3 separate regions of the Homo sapiens genome follow, and regions 1 and 2 are each linked to region 3. The links are contacts of gene promoters, found by promoter capture Hi-C in blood cells and fetal thymus (Javierre and others, 2016). All regions are on one chromosome and are shown on one strand. The core of a region is centred on a gene start or on the middle of the fragment in contact, and the rest is flanking DNA. Distances in the headings are between cores, read along the strand shown.

Region 1 (4,546 bases), core at 292-2,791, 89 kb before region 3:
TTAAATGCTTTGTTGTTTCAGACGGAGTCTAGCTCTGTGGCCCAGGCTGGAATGCAGTGCCGCAATCTCAGCTCACTGCAACTTCCGCCTCCCAGGTTCAATCAATTCTTCTGCCTCAGCCTCCTGAGTAGCTGGAACTATAGGCGCGTGCCACCATGCCCAGCTAATTTTCGTATTTTTAGTAGATACGGGGTTTCACCACGTTAGCCAGGCTGGTCTTGAGCTCCTGACCTCAAGTGATCCGCCCGTCTCGGACTCCCACAGTTTTGGGATTACAGGCGTAAGCCACCGTGCCCGGCCTATTTTTAAATTTTTTATTTTTAGTGTTTTTTCCCCTCCCTTGCAATTTATGTTTCCTCTCATTTGCTTTTCCCTTCTTGTTTGTTTCTTACTTGTATATTAAAGTCCTTCCTTAAATGTCTAATGATCTCTGGCTATTTATTTTGAAGAGTAAGAACACTAAAAAGCTGATTGGAAAGTGGAATGAGGGCTGGGGCACGTAGGCCAAAGTGTTACATGTGGAATTCATTCTAGTTATCTATATCATTAAGAGAACTCTGATAAGGGTATCTTTGGGATTTTTCGTTTTGGCTGGTGAGATTCCCCAGAGAGGGTTTTCCAAAGGTATAATCAGCCTCTTGTTTACCTTTGTTTCGTAATAAATATTCTCAAGTTTGCTAAACCAGTTAACATTCTTCTGTTTGATTTCCAGCTTCCAAAATGTTGCTGTTGTTGTCTCCTTTCCCTTTCTTACGGCCTGGAGAGTAATACATAATTTCACCTTAACTGGAAGCCCATGTATGCATGTATGTATGTATGTATGTATGTATGTATGTATGTATGTATGTACGTACTTATTTGAGACGGGGTTTCGCTGTGTTGCGCAGGCTGCACTTGAACTCCTGGGCTCAGGAGATCCTCCTGCCTCAGCCTCCGGAGTAGCTGATACCACAGGTGCGTGCCACCACGTCTGGCTGCCCGCATTATTTCTCTAGGATTTTTACTGGAGGTCATTTTACTGGAGGTCAACTGCAGGATCGTATAGGAAGGTTTTGACACAAATTTTCTGATTGCCTCAAAGCAATATGTATATATGAAAAGAGGTAAGCGTCCGTATAATAATTGTTTGTTTTGCAACAAGCATTTAATAACTTTCACCGGCACTGCGCACGCTACCTATCTGCCTCAATACTCCGCCCGGCGGTGGGCAGGATATAATGCAAGAGACGTCTGAAAAAGCAATGAGATGCGCATGACAGCTGGGCGAAGACAGAGGGCAAACTTAAAAGGACCAAGCGCATAGACCACGCCTCTGAAATTGGGGAACGAGGAGGGGTTTGATCTTGTCGATGATTGGCTGGTCTCTGACCAATCACGGACAGCGATTGATATTTCTAATCGTCGTGATCCACCTCCCCAGGACCTTGGAGCCACGTTTACAAATAGGAATAGGGTACGTGGGAGGGATAGAACGTACAGCCAATAAAATCATGTGGCGCCGATGGGCGTGTTGAGGCCGCTGCCTGGCTTAGGGCGGAAACAGATTCTCTGCATAAGAAGGGGAACGAAAGATGGCGGCGGAAACGCTGCTGTCCAGTTTGTTAGGACTGCTGCTTCTGGGACTCCTGTTACCCGCAAGTCTGACCGGCGGTGTCGGGAGCCTGAACCTGGAGGAGCTGAGTGAGATGCGTTATGGGATCGAGATCCTGCCGTTGCCTGTCATGGGAGGGCAGGTGAGAGGCGTATAAGGGGCGAGGGTCTGGGCAGAAGAGGAAGCGGGTAAGAGATAGAGGAAGAAGGGCAGCTCCGGAGTCTGGGGCTGGAGCCTACGGGGAATCGGGAAGAGTAGGTATTGCTTTTACGGTGACCCCTGGGGGTCGCAGACTGAGACCAATTCTCTGGGGGCCAGGAATTGGGAGAGGTGGGGCTTCCCGCTGTCAACCTTCAGGTCTCAGTTTATGATCGAAACACCCGGACTCCGCCCCCGTGGAGAAATGGGAGCGCCCTCTCCTCTCACCCACTAAATACAGCTGGAGGGCTTATGGCTTATTCTGTCTTCGACTGATCTCTTCCCCAGGGTTTGAAGAGGGATTTCGTTGTTCTCCCTGATCCCAGCCTTTCTTTGCTTCCTTGCCCCCCGACCCTCCCTTCTTTCCCAGAGCCAATCTTCGGACGTGGTGATTGTCTCCTCTAAGTACAAACAGCGCTATGAGTGTCGCCTGCCAGCTGGAGCTATTCACTTCCAGCGTGAAAGGGAGGAGGAAACACCTGCTTACCAAGGGCCTGGGATCCCTGAGTTGTTGAGCCCAATGAGAGATGCTCCCTGCTTGCTGAAGGTGAAAGGGACTGGGTTAGATAGAATGAGGGCTTGGAAACTAGCAGTTCATCCAAGAACTGGAGTCCACTGAATGAGGCAGGATCTAGGGGACCTGTAGTGGTTAAGAAGACCACTGGAGGAGTAGACAGATTACACGGACAGGAAAGAAGCAAAGAATCCTGCAACCACTGATGACACTTTGCTGAACGTAGGAGCAGGTTAGGATAGAAGATCTCAGAAAAGGGCTAAAGCAAGATTGAGGGTCTGCGTGGGGTAGGAGGAGTACTTCCTTAAGCCTACTTGCTAAAGTCACCCCCTGCCCTATCACTCTGCTCCAGTATCCTGTTTTATTTTCATCGTAGCACTTTTCATGATCTGAAATCATATTTACTGAATCAGTTTGTTTATTTTCGGTCTGATTCCCCGCATTAGAGTGTAAACTCCATGAGGTCAAAGAATTAATCTTGTTCACAGTTGTATTCCCAGTGGCCAGAACAGTGCCAGGAATGTTCAAGAAGTTCAATTAATATTTAATTTTGGGTTCTTCTATGTTTCCCTAATATAATTGCTTCAGGGATACCATAATTTCTTATCTTTATGGAGGGCAAATAAGGATTTAAAAAATCTTTTAAAAGGGAGGAATGGAAAGACCACAAGTGGAAAACAGACTTTAGAGATATCTCTCCAAGTCACAGAAGGAAAGCAGCCCTCCCTCCTTACTGAAAGTCTGGAGAATTGAGAGTGGAAGTGAAGGGAAGAGAATTGAGTGTGTAAGTAGATGAGAGGTTATGTGTCTTGGAGCCAGGAGACTCTGGTTCCAAGAAAAGATGTCTGCACTCCATCCCCCTGATTGTTTATTTTTTAATTGTCAGACAAAGGACTGGTGGACATATGAATTCTGTTATGGACGCCACATCCAGCAATACCACATGGAAGGTAACTCACTCCTATATTTTCCTTAAGCCCTTAGTGTCATATCATGGAAGTTCCCCAGTTCCCTCCTCCTCCTCCTCCTCTTAAGAGTAACAGTGCTTCACTGTGGCTTCCCTTGCAGATTCAGAGATCAAAGGTGAAGTCCTCTATCTCGGCTACTACCAATCAGCCTTCGACTGGGATGATGAAACAGCCAAGGTGGCAAGAGTGTGGGATTCAGGAAGAAAGGGTTCTGGCCACCGGCTGAGAGCCCTGACAAGAAGGGGAGGGTCAAGATTAGCTGATCTGTTTCTTGGGGCTTGGTGGCCATTAGGACAAAGTTTCCTGGGGCCTGGGGGCACAGGCCATTCTTTTGTCTCTTTGGGGACGCAGTGCCATCCTTCCTCTTTGCTATCTTTCTCATGTCCCCCATTCCTGCCTCATGTCTTCTCCAGGCCTCCAAGCAGCATCGTCTTAAACGCTACCACAGCCAGACCTATGGCAATGGGTCCAAGTGCGACCTTAATGGGAGGCCCCGGGAGGCCGAGGTTCGGGTGAGTCTTGAGAGAGGGAAGTTGACACTCCCACAGGGACAGTTCAGATTCTAAGGGAAGAGGGTTGCATCTTATAGTCGGGGCGGGGGCGGGGGGGGTCCCCTCCCAGACCCTAAATCCAAAGTTTAAAACATATTTCCAGCCGGGCGCAGTGGCTTATGCCTGTAATCCCAGCACTTTGGGAGGCCGAGGCGGGCAGATCACCTGAGGTCAGGAGTTCAAGACCAGCCTGACCAATATGGTGAAACCCCATCTCTACTAAAAATACAAAAATTAGCCGGGCGTGGTAGCGGGTGCCTATAGGCCCAGCTACTCGGGAGGCTGAGACAGGAGAATTGCTTGAACCTGGGAGGCGGACGTTGCAGTGAGCCGAGGTCGTGCCACTGTGCTCCAACCTGGGTGACAGAGTGAGACTCTGTCTCAAAAAAGAAAAGAAAAAAAAAAACCCACATTATTTCCAGGCCGGGCACGGTGGCTCACGCCTGTAATCCCAGCACTAGATATCTCTCAAAACTCTCCTATGCTTTCTTGTGGTCGGTACCTTCACTCTCGCCTGCATCCCTGCAAACAGCTTCTTTACAAGTGCTTCTCATCTAGTGGTCCTTAGCTGAGTGGAGGCAGGCAAATATAGAATGCAAAAAGTTCCTTGGGTGATTCTCATGTATTCACAAATATACACACCTGTAAAGAATTACATGACACCTGCCAGAGTTATCTTTCCATAATGCAGATTTGTACCTGCAGTTGTGTGCTGGTAAGTGTT
Region 2 (4,602 bases), core at 702-3,201, 98 kb after region 3:
TCCATATTGTTTAAACCAGTTGAATTGGAGATTGGTTTACTGCAACCTAAAGATTCCTAACTGATACAGAAATGAGTTCCATAAGGTGTTTCAAGAGACAGGCCCTAAAAATGGGATTGTCCAACCAAAGAAGTAAGATGAAGGATAAAGAACCCCTACATTTTCGGCTGAGAAATTGGCCATCTAATTAGCTATACAGTTTCCTGTTGTGACTTGGGGTGCAGATTACACAATCTGCGGCTGTAGCGGTACACTACTTAGTAGAAAAATGTAGAGTGTTGGATTGGGTTGGCTCCTTCTTGTTAATATTAATAAAGTACTGTAAAAAGGTAAGTTGCTGGCCTGGTGCAGTGGCTCACGCCTGTAATCCCAGCACTTTGGGAGACCAAGGTGGGCGGATCACGAGGTCAGGAGTTCGAGGCCAGCCTGATCAGCATGGTGAAACCCCGTCTCTACGAAAAATACAAAAATTAGCCCAGCATGGTGGTGCACACCTGTAATCCCAGCTACTCGGGAGGCTGAGGCAGGAGAATCTCTTGAACCCAGGAGGTGGAGGTTGCAGTGAGCTGAGATCATGCCACTGCCCTCCAGCCTGGGTGACAGAGCGAGACTCCGTCTCAAAAAAAAAAAAAAAAAAAAAGGGTAAGCTTATGTTCAAACTAGCTTACCCCAAAACAGAGAAGGAAGAAAATACAGCTTTGATAAGAGAAGCCCTTTCTGCCTACGGTAAAAAAAAAAAAAAAAAAAAAAAAAAATGGCTGAGAGGACTAGAAAGCCCTGAAAACTTTGTCCCAAGGTATGTTAGTATTAGGTTAGTGCAAAAGTAATTGCGTTTTTTGCCATCGAAAAGAATTGCAAAACTGCAATTACTTTTGCACTAACCTAATGTGAACAGAAACAGGGATGGGGGATTGCATTGTATGGGATATGGGATATGAGATATGGGATATGGGATACAAGATATGGGATATGGGATATGGAACATGGGACATGGGACATGGGATATGGATATGGTCTATGGGATATGAATATGGGCTATGGGACATGGATATGAGGTATGGGATATGGATATAGGCTATGGGATATGGATGTGGGATATGGATATGGGATGTGGGATATGGATATGGGATATGGGATGTGGATGTGGGATATGGATATGGGATATGGGCTATGCCATATGGGATATGGATGTGGGATATGGGATATGGATGTGGAATATGGATATGGGCTATGGGCTATGGATGTGGGATATGGATATGGGCTATGGGCTACGGATGTGGGATATGGGATATGGAATATGGGATATGGATGTGGGATATGGGATATGGGATATTGATGTGGGATATGGATGTGGGATATGGATATGGGCTATGGGCTATGGATGTGGGATATGGATATGGGATATGGATATGGGCTATGGATGTGGGATATGGGATATGGAATATGGGACATGGGATATGGGCTGTGGGATATGAGATATGGGGTATGGATGTGGGATATGGGATATGAGATATGGGCTATGGATGTGGGATATGGGCTATGGACTATGGGATATGGATGTGGGCTATAGGATATGGAATATGGGATATAGGATATGGGATATGGTTGATGGCTTATCCCTAGCCCTTTCCCAAGCACCTCCTGCTTTTTATTCCTCCTAAAACAAAGGTGACCATAACTTCCATGACAGATGTAAGTGGGACACAGCCTATTGGCAACGACCAGATTTAGAGTGCCTCCCAGGCAGTTTCTTCAAGTTGTTCAAAGGTACAGTTTGAGACTAAACGTAAGGCTGGGTATTTGGGAAGAGAACTAAGACCTATTTGCTTAGTGAAAGAAATACCCAGGCCAGACTCCAGACTCAAAGACTAGTCTCACAAAGAGCTCTGGTTTTGGCCGGGCGCGGTGGCTCACGCCTGTAATCTCAGCACTTTAGGAGGCGGAGGCGGGCGGATCGCCTGAGGTCGGGAGTTCTAGACCAGACTGACCACCATGGAGAAACCCCATCTCTACTAAAAATACAAAAATTAGCTGGGCTTGGTGGCGCCTACCTGTAATCCCAGCTACTCGAGAGGCTGAGGCAGGAAAATTCCTTGAACCTGGGAGGTGGAGGTTGCAGGGAGCCGAGATCATGCCATTGCACTCCAGCCTGGGCAACAAGAATGAAACTCTGTCTCAAGGGGAGCTCTGGTTTCATATACTAGCTCATAGAATCAACCAGAAGCAAATAAACTTGAAGCCCACAAAGAAACTTCAAGCTCAGATGACAATGGCTAGAGACTTCAACTCCTAACATAATTCTCAGGTCCCAAAGCACAACGAATTTGTCTTCACAGAACCACTGCTTTAATGTCTTCTGTGAACATTAAAACAGTGGTTCTCACACTTTTGTGTACAGAAGACGTTTATTAAAAATACAGATTATTGGGCTTCATCCCCAAAGAATCTGATTCCTTCCATCTGGGATTGGGCTTGGGGATCTGCATTATTAACAAATATCCTTGATGATCCACATGTGGGTGGCCAGGGAGCCCCGCTTTGGGAAACACTGCATTGAAGGAAATTATTACTTTTTTTTTTTGAGACGGAATCTCGCTCTGTTGCCCAGGCTGGAGTGCAGTGGTATGATCTCGGCTCACTGCAACCTCTGCCTCCTGGGTTCAAGCAATTCTCCTGCCTCAGCCTCCCCAGTAGCTGGGATTACAGGCCCATGCCACCACACCCGGCTAATATATATATATGTTTTTAGTTTTTGTATTTTTAGTAGAGACGGGGTTTCACCACATTGGTCAGGCTGGTCTCGAACTCCTGACCTCGTGATCCGCCGGCCTCGGCTTCCCAAAGTGCTGGGATTACAGGCATGAGTCACGGCGCCTGGCCTAGTATTAAATTCTTTAGGGATGATCAGCAGGACTCATTTTGTCCTGATAGTATCTGTGCACTGTGTAGGGCCCAGACTGAGAGCTCAGCACAGCCTTGTCTATTAGACCTGAAAAGCATGGGTTTCTGGAACCAAGGTGGTTTTGGGAAGTAAGCAGACTATGATTCCAGGAACTGATTTGCCCTGAGTCCCTGCTCCCTTACTTCTTGATCATGTTTAATTCTGCCTTGGCTCTATTAGGATTGCTTTGTCCAGACACTGACCTGGCAGTGAGTGTGCCTGGGATCCTCTGTCAGTGTCCCTTGTATAGTCAGAGAGTTCTGGACACATCTGTGGGAGGTAGAGAATGTGACAAACCCTGGGGAGAGTGTTTACTAAGCTTTTCCATGTTTATTTTCTTTCCTCCATCTCACCTTAGGACAGGGAGTATTCTGAAAGCCTTAGTGAAGCAGTGACACTTTTCTGGCACCTTGAATGACTCATATGTCTCAGTGCCACACACCCTCCATTGAAGGCCTTGGGATTGTCAAGGTCAGGATATTTAAAGTCACATTCTTGGGAGTGATCTGGACATTGCCAGGTCAGCTCAGGATGAGGGAGGTGCCCAGAGACAGCTGTCAGTGTCAGTGCCCATAGTTTATGGTGAGTCTAATAGTAAATGCCAGTTATAGGTATGGTCTTATCATTGTTTAGTTATAGCTGGTGATGGCCAAGTGACTATGGGTTTCTTTCCATTCATTCTCCTAAACTTTTTTTGTTTTTTTAAAGTAAGTGTCTTGCTTCGTTGCTGAGGATGGAGTACACTGGCATGGTGACAGCTCACTGCAGCCTTGAACTCCTGGCTCAAGTGATCCTCCTGCTTCAGCCTCCTGAGTAGCTGGGACTGCCGGCACATGCCACCATGCTCAGTTAATGTTTTCACTTTTTTTTTGTAGAGACAAGGTCTTTCTCTGTTGCCCAGGCTGACCTCAAACTCCTGGTCTCAAGTGATCCTCCTGCCTTGGCCTTCCAAAGTGTTGGGATCACAGGCATGAGCCACTGCACCTGGTGTCATTCTCCTAAACATTTATTTTTTTTTCTATTTTTCTTTCTTGTTTGCTTTTTCTTTTCTTTTTATTTCTTTTTTTTAAACTGAATCTTATGTTTACTGAGATCTCCTAAACATTTAATTCAGCACCTACTATATGCAAAACGCCAGGGAGAATACAAAGATGTGTAGACATAACTGTACCCCAGATGAACTCACAGACTAGAAAGCAACTTGGTGGCCCTGCAGAGAGACTCAGGAGCGATAATCATACTCACAGGTAGGGTATTATAAGCTCACTAAAGAAGAGCTTCCAACCTGCACTGGTGGAGATAATGGTGAGGCATAGGGATATCTTCTGAAAGCAAGGTCCTGAGCTGAATATACAAATTTAAGCAGAAGTTATCCAGAACAACTGCTGTTTCTGGTCAAGATGCAATAACAGGGATGGACTTTACCCTCCTTCCTGGAGCAATTAAAATGTTGTATAAAATATATGAAGCAATGGTTTTGGATATCAGACAGCACAGGACAGTGATCCCTGAGAGAGGGAAAACAAGTGAACTGAGCTGTACATTTGCTCCATCCTACTGCCTTGAGAGAGTTTCCAGGCTGCTGTGCAAAGAGGAGCAACCCAGGCAGAGTCCAGTAGTCTCTCTGAGCTGAGGAGATGCAACAGGGAATTCAGAGAGGC
Region 3 (4,291 bases), core at 667-3,166:
CACCAAGGAGGTTCCTGGCTCCTGTTCTCAGAGAAGGAGGATGGTAAGGTATCCAGGATTTTTAGGGGGTAAGGGAGATATATGGGATGTGAGAGCAGTGATTGTAGACAGACTGTCACTGATCACTTCCATTCCTGTTGCTGTTTACACAGAATGGACTTTAAAAAAATTCTGTGGGATTTTTTTTTCTTTTTTTCTTTTTTTTTGAGACAGGGTCTCACTCTGTCATCCAGGCTGGAGTGCAGTGGTGTGATCACAGCTCACTGCAGCCTCAACCTCTGAAGGCCCAGATGATCTTCCTGCCTCAGCTCCCCAAGTAGCTGGGACTAGAGGCATGCGCCACCACACCCGGCTAATTTTTGTATTTTCAGTAGAGACAGGGTTTCGCCATGTTGCCCAGGGTGGTCTCAAACTCCTGGGCTCAAGTGATCCACCCGCCTTGCCTCCCAAAGTGCTGGGATTGCAGGCATGGCCCACTGTGCTAGCCTAGGATTTTTTTTTTTTTTTAAGAAAGAATTAAGCCTTAAAAATCTATTGTGCAAGAACCCAACTTTTACTCAGGAGCTGAGAAGGAAGAAGCCTCAAACCACCCATTTCCTGCTTTTTAGAGATAGAGTCTAGTGGAACCATGGCTCTAACTGGGTCAAGTCCTCCTAGCTCTGAAGCTAAGGCTGCAGAGCTGTCCTTTGGACTGTATTTCTTCATGCTTTCCAGAGTTAGAGCCTTGATCACGGAACATCATTGTGTGCAGAAGAATACTGTACCTAGTACTAAGTTCTTTTCATCTTTGATTTTTCTTTAGCTTCATCAGTCCTTCCTTCCTAATCTCTAATCCCCTGAAGCCTAACACAGTTCCTAATGTGTTTTGCCTTAACCTCTTTTCTCTTCCCACATTGGTACTTCTGGTTGGGGCTCTCTTTACTTACTGCTTAGGCACATAGTCACCTTCTCTGGACTCCCTGCTTCCATGCTTTCTCCTTCAGTCCATTCCGCAAACTCTTGTGATCTTCCAAAATTAGCTCTGATTAGCTTTCACTTCCTGTAGAAGCAAGAACAAGCTCCTCTGCTTGGTACTTAGTCTGTGTCCATGTGATCCAAAATTACCTTCCTATTGCATTTCCTACTCCTTTGCTACGTGTATTGGACCTCTGGCCAAATTACAAAAGATGTACTCTTTGTTCTCTAAAACCACACTAAAGTTTTCTGACTTCTTTCACACTCTTTATGATAATCCTCTGCCTGAAAGGCTATTGCCACCTGTCAAAATCTTCATTATTCTTTGCCTCTTTCCTGAGCCTCTTGCTTGAATGTGATTTCTTTCTCCCTGAGACCCATAAGGTTCATCTTATGGGACCTTAATTTGTCTTGCATGGACATTTGTGATTCTCATTTTCTCACCATTAAATTACCTTGGAGGGTAGGGCTGTGGTTTACTCCTGTCTAAACCCCTGAAGCCTAACACAGTTCCTGGCACACAACAGGTGTTCAACAGATATTGTGCTCATTCAATAAATATTTACTCGCTTTGTTTAATGGATTCCACCCCTGCCTTCCTAGGTGACCTTGGACAAATTCTCGAACCCATTCACCAACCACACAAGTTTGTTGTGAGTCATAAATGGATAATGAATATAAATGCGCATTGAAAATAAACATAAAATGTTACCCACATTTCTTGTGTTGTTGTTTTGTGACGACTTTATTTCTTGGTTTCTGTTATTTTACCTGGGGTGGGAGGTGGGGGGTAATTCCCGTATGAAATGTGTCGTCTCAAGAAATCAAGTAGAGGCGAGGACTGTGTTCCTCCGGCCAGCAGGTGGCACCATACTCGTTTGGTGCGTTCCGCTGGAGAATTCTGGCCCTTCCGCCGCGCCGTAGGTTTGTTGCCTCACCAGTGCGCCCGCCGGAGGGTGTTTATCGCGGCTAGAGAGATGTCGCTGCTGCGGTCGCTGCGCGTGTTTCTGGTCGCGCGGACCGGGAGCTACCCGGTGAGAAGTCCTGGTGCTGGTACCGACCTGCTGTCCCTGCAGCTCTCCTGTGCGCCTGTACCTTTCCCTTCCTCCCAACCTCGTTTGACTCCATCTCACCTTCCCCGACAGCATTGCCTCTGCCCAGTCCAGCCCCGGTGCACCCCCCTTTGCACACTGTCCGCTCCCTAAGGTCGCTTCCCTGCCCGTGTACCCTTCACCCTCTGGAGTTTGCTGCTTCCTGCTCCTCATCCCTTTCTTATCTCATCTAGGCTGGGTCTCTTCTGCGTCAGTCGCCCCAGCCAAGGCACACATTTTATGCTGGGCCCCGTCTGTCTGCCTCGGCCTCCAGCAAGGAGCTCCTCATGAAGCTGCGGCGGAAAACAGGCTACTCCTTTGTAAATTGCAAGAAAGCTCTGGAGACTTGTGGCGGGGACCTCAAACAGGTGTGTGTGTGGAGGGGTGCAGGGCGGAGTACTAGAGCTCGACCTCAGACTCTTGGGGCGGTCACGCTGGGGAGCATAAAGTTAGACTGCTCTTCAGTGACCATAATGGCACAGTCCTAAGTGGAAATCTGGCTTAAATGACAACCTTGGCCTTGACTTTGTCTTATTTGAAAGCAGTTGAGTATCCCAGGATTAACAAACCAGACTGTTACGGTGTTTCTTGTTGCCTGGAGCTGAAAGGGTTTGTGTGAGCTTTGGAGTCAGATTGTTCAGGAGTCAAATTGTGGGGCCCCCACACTGTCTGACTTTAGACTTTTTTTTTTTTTTTCAGACGGAGTCTTGCTCTGTGGCCCAGGCCGGCGTGCAATGGCACGATGTTGGCTCACTGCAACCTCCGCCTCCCGGGTTCAAGCGATTCTCCTGCCTCAGCCTCCTGAGTAGTTGGGATTACAGGCGTGCGCCACGACACCCGGCTATTTTATTTTTTATTTTTTATTTTTTTTTGTATTTTTAGTAGAGATGGGGTTTCGCCGTGTCGGCCAGGCTGGTCTCGAACTCCTGGCCTCAGGTGATCCGCCCGCCTCGGCTTCCCAGAGTGGTGGGATTACAGGAGTGAGCCACCGCGCCCGGCTGACTTTAGACATCTTAATCTTTCAGAGTTGTGTAGTTTTTGCCTGTACGGTCATGCGTCTCTTAATAGGAAGATACATTCTGAGAAATGGCGTCGTTAGGAGATTTTGGCTTATGCACATCATAGAGTACCTACACAAACCTAGATGGTATATTGTACTACAACCTGGGCTATATGGAATTGCCAGCTGCTCCTAGGCTACAAACCGTTACAAAATGTTACTGGACTGAATACTGTAGGCAGTTGTAACACAGTGGTAAGTATTGTGTATCTAAACATAGAAAAAGTACAGTAAATAGGCATAAAAGATAAAAAACGATACATCTCCATAGGGAACTTATCATGTATGGAGCTTGCAGGACTGGAAGTTGCTCTGGGTGAGTCAGTGAGTGGTGAGTGAATATGAAGGCCTGCCTTAGGACACTATGGTGCACTATAGTAGACGTTAAAGCACAGTACACATAAGCTACATTACATTTATAAGAAATTTTTTTCTGTGATAATAAGTTAACCTTAGTTTAATGTAACATTTTTATTTTATAAACTTTTAACATGTTTTAAATTTTTGGACTCTTTTGTAATAACAGCATAAAACACATATTGTACAGCTGTACCAAAATATTTTTCTTTATGCACTTTTTCTGTGAGCTTTTTTCTGTTTTTAAAATTTTAAACTTTTTTTGGCTGGGCGTGGTGGCTCATGCCTGTAATCTCAGAACTTTGGGAGGCTGAGGCAAGCGGATCACCTGAGGTTGCGAGTTCGAGACTAGCCTGACCCACACGGAGAAACCTCGTCTCTACTAAAAAAAAATAAAATTAGCCTGGTGTGGTGGCAAGGGCCTGTAATCCCAGCTACTCGGGAGGCTGAGGTAGGATAATCTCTTGAACCCAAAAGGCGGAGGTTGTGGTGAGCCGAGATCGTGCCATTGCACTCCAGCCTGGGCAATAAGAGTGAAACTCTGTCTCAAAAAAAAAAACAACAACTTTTTTTATTGAAATATCTTTTTTTTTTTTTTTTTTTTTTTTTTTTGAGACAGAGTCTTACTCTGTCCCCCAGGCTGGACTGCAGTGGCACAATCTTGGCTCACTGCAAGCTCCACCTCCCAGGTTCACACCATTCTCCTGCCTCAGCCTCCTGAGTAGCTGGGACTACAGGCGCCCGCCACCACGCCCGGCTAATTTTTTGTATTTTTAGTAGAGACAGGGTTTCACCGTGTTAGCCAGGATGGTCTCGATCTCCTGACCTT

What was found. The method cuts DNA at HindIII sites, captures the fragments that hold promoters and counts their contacts. A CHiCAGO score of 5 or more calls a contact.
Region 1: a contact is called between the fragment with the promoter of OS9 here and the fragment with the promoter of TSFM in region 3, in 2 of 17 cell types (naive B cells and neutrophils). The highest score is 6.1, in naive B cells.
Region 2: a contact is called between a fragment that was not itself captured here and the fragment with the promoter of TSFM in region 3, in 15 of 17 cell types (naive CD4 T cells, naive CD8 T cells, total CD4 T cells and 12 more). The highest score is 12.8, in naive CD4 T cells.

What each region holds. Positions count from the first base shown.
Region 1 is chr12:57,692,591-57,697,136 of GRCh38, forward strand. It overlaps OS9 (OS9 endoplasmic reticulum lectin), which reads left to right and starts at 1,542. Exons shown (of 15, transcript NM_006812.4): 1 at 1,542-1,733; 2 at 2,160-2,336; 3 at 3,190-3,253; 4 at 3,372-3,448; 5 at 3,685-3,783. The coding sequence starts at 1,572. RefSeq lists enhancers at 1,171-1,745, 1,733-1,782. The HindIII fragment of the contact is 11,057 bases long and covers 1-4,546 here.
Region 2 is chr12:57,878,360-57,882,961 of GRCh38, forward strand. All of the region lies in intron 1 of LOC283387 (a long non-coding RNA gene), which reads right to left. All of the region lies in intron 1 of LOC124902948 (a long non-coding RNA gene), which reads left to right. Among named protein-coding and RNA genes, the nearest start is that of CTDSP2, 34 kb to the left of the region's middle. The HindIII fragment of the contact is 2,613 bases long and covers 646-3,258 here.
Region 3 is chr12:57,780,871-57,785,161 of GRCh38, forward strand. TSFM (Ts translation elongation factor, mitochondrial) reads left to right here and starts at 1,917. Exons shown (of 6, transcript NM_005726.6): 1 at 1,917-1,988; 2 at 2,240-2,413. The coding sequence starts at 1,932. EEF1AKMT3 (EEF1A lysine methyltransferase 3) reads left to right here. Exons shown (of 3, transcript NM_015433.3): 3 at 1-1,671. RefSeq lists enhancers at 1,678-2,547, 1,901-1,970. The HindIII fragment of the contact is 6,425 bases long and covers 1-4,291 here.